2 separate regions of the Homo sapiens genome follow, and region 2 is linked to region 1. Evidence: promoter capture Hi-C in 16 types of primary human blood cells and fetal thymus (Javierre and others, 2016). All regions are on one chromosome and are shown on one strand. Each heading gives the region's core, a stretch centred on a gene start or on the middle of the fragment in contact. The rest is flanking DNA. Distances are from core to core; before and after follow the strand shown.

What was found. The method cuts DNA at HindIII sites, captures the fragments that hold promoters and counts their contacts. A CHiCAGO score of 5 or more calls a contact.
Region 2: a fragment that was not itself captured here is called in contact with the fragment with the promoter of MIR381HG in region 1 in 1 of 17 cell types (endothelial precursors); the score reaches 5.6 in endothelial precursors.

The regions. Positions count from the first base shown.
Region 1 is chr14:101,043,567-101,046,545 of GRCh38, reverse strand. MIR381HG (MIR381 host gene) reads right to left here and starts at 1,389. Exons shown (of 3, transcript NR_104192.1): 1 at 1,362-1,389. It overlaps MIR1185-2 (microRNA 1185-2), which reads right to left and starts at 2,348; the gene lies at 2,263-2,348. MIR381 (microRNA 381) reads right to left here and starts at 626; the gene lies at 552-626. It overlaps MIR487B (microRNA 487b), which reads right to left and starts at 91; the gene lies at 8-91. RefSeq lists enhancers at 1-280, 281-781. The HindIII fragment of the contact is 10,476 bases long and covers 1-2,979 here.
Region 2 is chr14:101,343,316-101,346,294 of GRCh38, reverse strand. No RefSeq gene overlaps it. Among named protein-coding and RNA genes, the nearest start is that of LINC00524, 63 kb to the left of the region's middle. The HindIII fragment of the contact is 769 bases long and covers 1,219-1,987 here.

The DNA.
Region 1 (2,979 bases), core at 140-2,639:
TGCGCTCTTGATACTGAAAAAGTGGATGACCCTGTACGATTCGACATGAGCAAAACGAACAGGACAGGGATAACCACTCTCCAAGTACCAAAGGTTAGCACGGAAAAGAAAGCCACTGCCTTGGGTGGACTTGGTACGTCTTCAAGGCGCGGTCCTGGGGATGAATTAGATGCTGAGGGTTAGTGGACCGGGTCACATACCCCAAGCAGAACATGCACACTCACGGACCGAGTAACAGCAGGGACCACAAAGCCACTACCCCACACGAGCGCCACCCCAGCCATCGGCCCGGGCTGATGACTTCCCGCTCAGGAAGCAGGGACCCAGACCACACACATCGTGCATGCTTTTGGCCCCGCCCACACTGCACCAGGAGAGGGGATGTCCCAGAGGCCACTGCCTTCCCTAAAGTCATCCAGGTGCCCGTGAAGTCCTCTCTGTGAAGTGGGGACCCGTGAACGATTTGCCACACACAAAACGGATACACACGGTCATGCACACACATACCGCATCCCTTGCTGAGTGTGGACTGGGTCCAAGACAAGGTTTGATACTCACAGAGAGCTTGCCCTTGTATATTCCATGTCAATAAACCGAATATACAAAGGGCAACCTCGCTTTAAGTACCAAACAATAGCACTGGGCAGGTTCCTCACTATCATTCACGGGGCCGGCCTCCTCTCCCGGGGTTCATCCTGGCGGGGGAGGGGGTGGGAGATGCGGGATCAGCAGACCAGGTGGCAAACACCACCTGCCAGCTGTGTGCCCATAGGTCAGCTCTCCATCCCAAAGGGGCCAGGAAGGGGCAGACGCCAGTGCCCCTTCACCAGAATCAGCCTCTTTTCCAGGCATCACTCCAGATTAGAACTTGTTCCTGAAAAGGAGATCCACCCCACGGGCCTTCCTGGGCACACGCAGAGCTCAGCTTCTCACTTTCTATAGGAATTCCCTGGGGTGGGACCACCATCTCCTTCCCAGTGTGGGCACCTCTCCAGGAAGTTTTCCTAAGGATGCACTCAGCACCGAGGTCCCAGGCACTGGATGAATTTACACCTTAGACAAAGCAAAGGCCCTGTGGTCACCATCCCTTCATCCATCTCACAGAGCCGTTGACACCAGTGTCATTCTCCATGCCAGCCCTTGCCCCACCCCTGCCAGAGGCTGGCATCGTGGCCATGAAGCCATGCTAAGAAAGAGCACAGGGTCAACAGTAGTAAACCCCACGTACCCCCAAGTAACTGAGGAAGCAGACCCACAGCCCATTCCCCACAGTGGTCTCTCCTTCAAGAAGGGGAGAGGAGCGGGAGCCGCCTGGTCCAGGTGGCAGGTTATGTGACTCATTACCCAGGCGTGGTGCTCACCTCTCTTCAGCTGGACGTTCGCTTTCCTTGGGCTGAGGATGCTGCGAATGTCCTTCCTGAAGCTGGCTTCGGGTCCAGATGACCCCCATGGCAGTCGGGGTGTAAAAAGCCGGCAGTCACACGGCCCAAGGAGTGTCTCCACAAACACAGAACAAGAGTCCCATTCTCAGGCAGCCATCCTAGGTGTGAGCAGAAAGCCAGCAGTCAGAGACGGGGCACAGACATCGAGGCAGAAGCAGGCGCCCTCTGACCTCCCACATGCACGCACCTGGTGCGGGGCTGACAGCTCCCACGGCTCATCCCCAGCGCTGCCTTCATGGGCAATCACAAATGACAAATAGAAGCAAACCATTCTTACAGATTCAGCCTGGGGACTGCGAGCTGGATCATGAACACCCAAGCATCAAAAAAAAAAAGCGCTGATGAGCACACCTCAGCCCCTTCCCCAAGGTCAATACCACCTCCAGGAAGCCCTCCTGGGGCTGGCCTACCAGGCTCGAAAACAGCATAGACAGAGCCAGTGCTCCGTGGTCCACCATCACTGCTGTCTGTGTTCCCCTTGAAATGATCCAACATCCAGGTCCCCCTTCTAAGGCTGATGCTGGGAACAGGAAGCCTTCTGTGTATGACTTGGTACCAAGAAGAGGCAGATCAATGTGTGATTTATCCTTAAAAAAGCAAACCACCATTAAACTTGGAGCACACAAAAAGGTCCCTCCTCTCCCACTGCTTCCAGGGAGTCCACAGGAAGAACCAGCATAGAGGGCGAAGGCAGAACCCAGGGGCAGCGTCACAGCCAACCTCACGTTCCCGGACATGGAAGCCAGGCCATACCTGAGAGGGGCTGACATCCGAGGCTTTGTCCTGGAGACAAGCAGGGTATGAGTGTCTTCTCCGACAGTTTGATACGCAAATGAGAGTCTCCCCCTGTATATTCGCCATTAATCAAGTGAACATACAAAGGGTATCCTCTCTTTAAGTACCAAAGGGTGGCTCAAAGAGCAGGTGAGGACCATGCCGGGTCTTTGCCGGAGTGGACATCTCCTCCTGCGAGGCCTGAGACCAAGGGGGAGGGGCCCGGTGACAAGCCTCATCTGGCTGACCCTGGAGCTGGGCCTGCACCTTGCACATTGTGGCCTGGCCCCGAAAGGTGGCACATCCAGGACTCCCTGCAGGCGAGACTGGCTTCTAAACAAGGGAACAGGTAGGCATGACTATCAGTGTGCTCAGCATGCATGGGTGAACCTGCTTCAAATACCCACAAGCTACATGGACAATGGAACCATCACCTTTCTCCAAAGGGGCACAGGGTGTGAGGGCTCAGCCCGGCAAGACATGGAGTTATCAGAGAAGAAGGCATCTGCAGGCATTCTCAGAGCTGGAGAGCGCTGAGACAATGTCTCTCCTCTGAGGCTGGTTGTCCTAGAGATGACCAGATCCAAGAATGTGTCACCTGTACCTACCTCGAAACAAACAAAAAGAGGGCCCCAGCGTCAGACTCTAGCGACAAAGGAGTCCTGAAGACCAGACACACCTGCCCAAGGCACACTCAGGTGCAATCACTGGACAATGTGCTCCGAGGACTGGCCATTGGAGTCCAGCGACAGTCCCAGAGGGC
Region 2 (2,979 bases), core at 354-2,853, 300 kb before region 1:
ATCCTTGTCTTGTTTCAGAACTTAGGGAGGAAGGCATCCAGTCTTTCAAAATTAGATGTGATGTTAATTTGTAGATATTTTTGTTGATGCCCTTTATCAGGTTGAGGAAATGCCCTCTAATATAAATTTGCTGAGAGTAGTTATAAGGATGAGATATTAGATCTTGACAGATGAATCTCCTGCATTTATTGAGATGACCCTATATGGTTTTCTCCTATATTTGCCAATATGGTGAATTACATTATTTGATTTTCAAATGTTAAGTCAATTTTGCATTGCTTTATAACTCCACTTGGTCATGGCATATTATTCTTTTTGCATATTGTTTGATTCAATATACTCCGATTTCTTTAAGAATATTTGCATCTGTGTTCATAATATATATTACTCTGTAGTTTTTTTGTAATACTGTCTTCTCATTTTGGTATCAGAGTAATACTTCCCCATGGAATAAGTTGTAAAATGTTCCTCTTCTTTAGGTTATTGAAAGAATTTGTGTAAACTTGATTTTGTTTCTTTCCTAAATGCTTGGTGGAATTCTCTAGTTAAGCCAAGTGGCCCTGGGATTTTCTCTGTGAGAAGATTTTAAACAGCAAATTACATTTCTTTAATAGATATGAAGCTGGGCTATTTGGATAACCTGTTCTTGAGTGAGATCTGGCAGTTCATGTCTTTCAAGGACTTTTTCCATTTTATTGAAATTATTGAGTTTATTTATAGAAAGTTGCTCATAATATTCTCTCATAGTCATTTTATTGTCTGCAGTATTTTCAGTGATATCCTTTTTCTCTCTTATTTCTGATATTGGCAATTTGCTTTTTTCTCTTTCTTTTTCCAGATCTGTCTGGAGAGTGGTTTATCAATTTGATCCTTTTTTTTTTTTTTAAAGAGATGAGGTCTCACTATTTTTCCCAGGCTGGTCTCGAGCTCCTGAGCTCAAGTAATCCTCCTGCCCTGGCCTCCCAAAATGCTAGGATGACAAGCGTAAGTCACCATGCCCAGCCTTTTGCTACATATATTTTTTAAATAGAGGTTGCTTTAGGACTTTCAGTATAAATCTTAAATTTATAACAGTCTGTCTTTGAGTAATATTAGACTACCTCCCATACAGCACAACCATCTTACCAAGCTGTACTCCTGTTTCTCCCTTTCCAGCCTTTGTGCTATTGCTGTTATGCCTTTCATTTCTTCATATACTTTAAGCCTCATTATTAAGCTTACTTGAAATAGTCAATTATCTTTTAAAGAGATTTTTTTTTAAATAAGAGAAAATGCCTTTTATATTTATTCAATATGGACCATTGCTGGTGCTCTTCGTTTCTTTGCATACATCTAGATTTCTATCTGTTAACATTTGTCTTCTGCTCAAAGGGCTTACTTGACCATTTCTTGCAAGTGAAGGTCTGCTGGCAATGGACTTCTTCAGCTTTTGTGTATCTGAAAAGGTCTTCCTTTTTGCCTTTATTTTTGAAAGATAATTTTTCTTGGTGGGTAAATAATTCTAGATGGACAGTTGTTTTCACTTTCAGATGTTGCTGTATTATCTTTTGGCATACTTTGTTTCTGATAAGAATTTGGCTCTCATTCTTACATTTGTTCTTCTGTACATAAAGCATTTCTCCCTCCCTTATGCTGAATGCTTTTAAAGTTTTCTCTATATCACTGCTTTTGGGCAATTTTACTATGATGTACAGTGGTTGAGGTTCTTCAAACTTCTTGTATCTGTGGGTTTATAGTTTTTATAGAATTTGGAAACATTTCAATCATAATTTCTTCAATTTTTTCCCATCTGCCTCTCCTTCAGGGACTCCAATTACATGTAGATTGGGACATTTGAATTTGTCCCAGCAATGCTAATTCTCTGGTCAGTCTCCCCTTCCCCCATCTTTTTACTTTCTTTATTTTATTTTGTGTGGCTTGCATTTCTGTGTCTTCAGGTACACTACATTTTTTTTTCTATAGTGTAATCTACACTTCATCCTAAGCTTTAAAAAAAACTCTATCAATTCAATTTGTGTCTTCTTTTCTACAACTTCCAATGCCTCTTTTTCAATATTCTTATGTTCTCCTCTACCTTCTTTACATACAAAATATAACTTTTTAACATCTTTGTCGACTAACTCTACATACAAAATATGATAACTTTTTAACATCTTTGTCCACTAACTCTATCATCTGTGTCATTTCTGGGTCTGTTTCTATTGATTGATATTCCTGATTCTGGGTCATATTTTTCTATTACTTTGCATTCTTTTCCATTGGATGCCAGCATTGTACATTTTATTTTGTAGGTGCCGGATAACTTTATATTCCTTTACATGTTCTTGAGTGTTATCCTTGGAAGCCATTGTGTTACTTGGAAACAGCCTGATCCTTTTTGAGGTTTACTTTAAAGCGTTGTCAGGGGAAACCAGGATGGCCATTGGTGTAGGGATGATTTTACTTTGCTCTTGTGGCAATAGCCTTCTGAGTACTCTACCTGATGCCTTGGGTATTACAAAGTTTCTCTACTTGGACTGGTGAGAACACAATCTGTTCCTGGCCCACTGAGACTCACACATTTTTCTGCCTGTTCCTTTCTGGTGGGAGTTTCCTGGCCTTGGTAGTTGTCTTGCAGGCATACATCCATCAGTACTCCATGGAAGTCTCCAGGGGAAGCCTCGTTGAACTCTGCCCTACAATTCTAGCTGCCTGGGCCTCCCTGGGTTCTCAGCTCTGTCTCCTCCTTTGAGGGAACAGCAGGCTCTGTTTGGGTCAGCTTTCCCTGGAACGTAGCCTGGAAAGGATTTCTAGGTGGTAAGTGAGGACCGTGGTAAGGCTTGCCCATTTGTTTCCCTTCTTTAAAGGATCTCTGCTCTGTGTGGCCTGTTGTTCTGTGTCCAAAAATCATTGTCTTTTTTTTTTTTATAGTTGTTTTGTCTGGTTGTTTGGTTGTTTAGTGTGGGAGGGCAAAGCTAGTTCCTGTGACTGCATCATGGT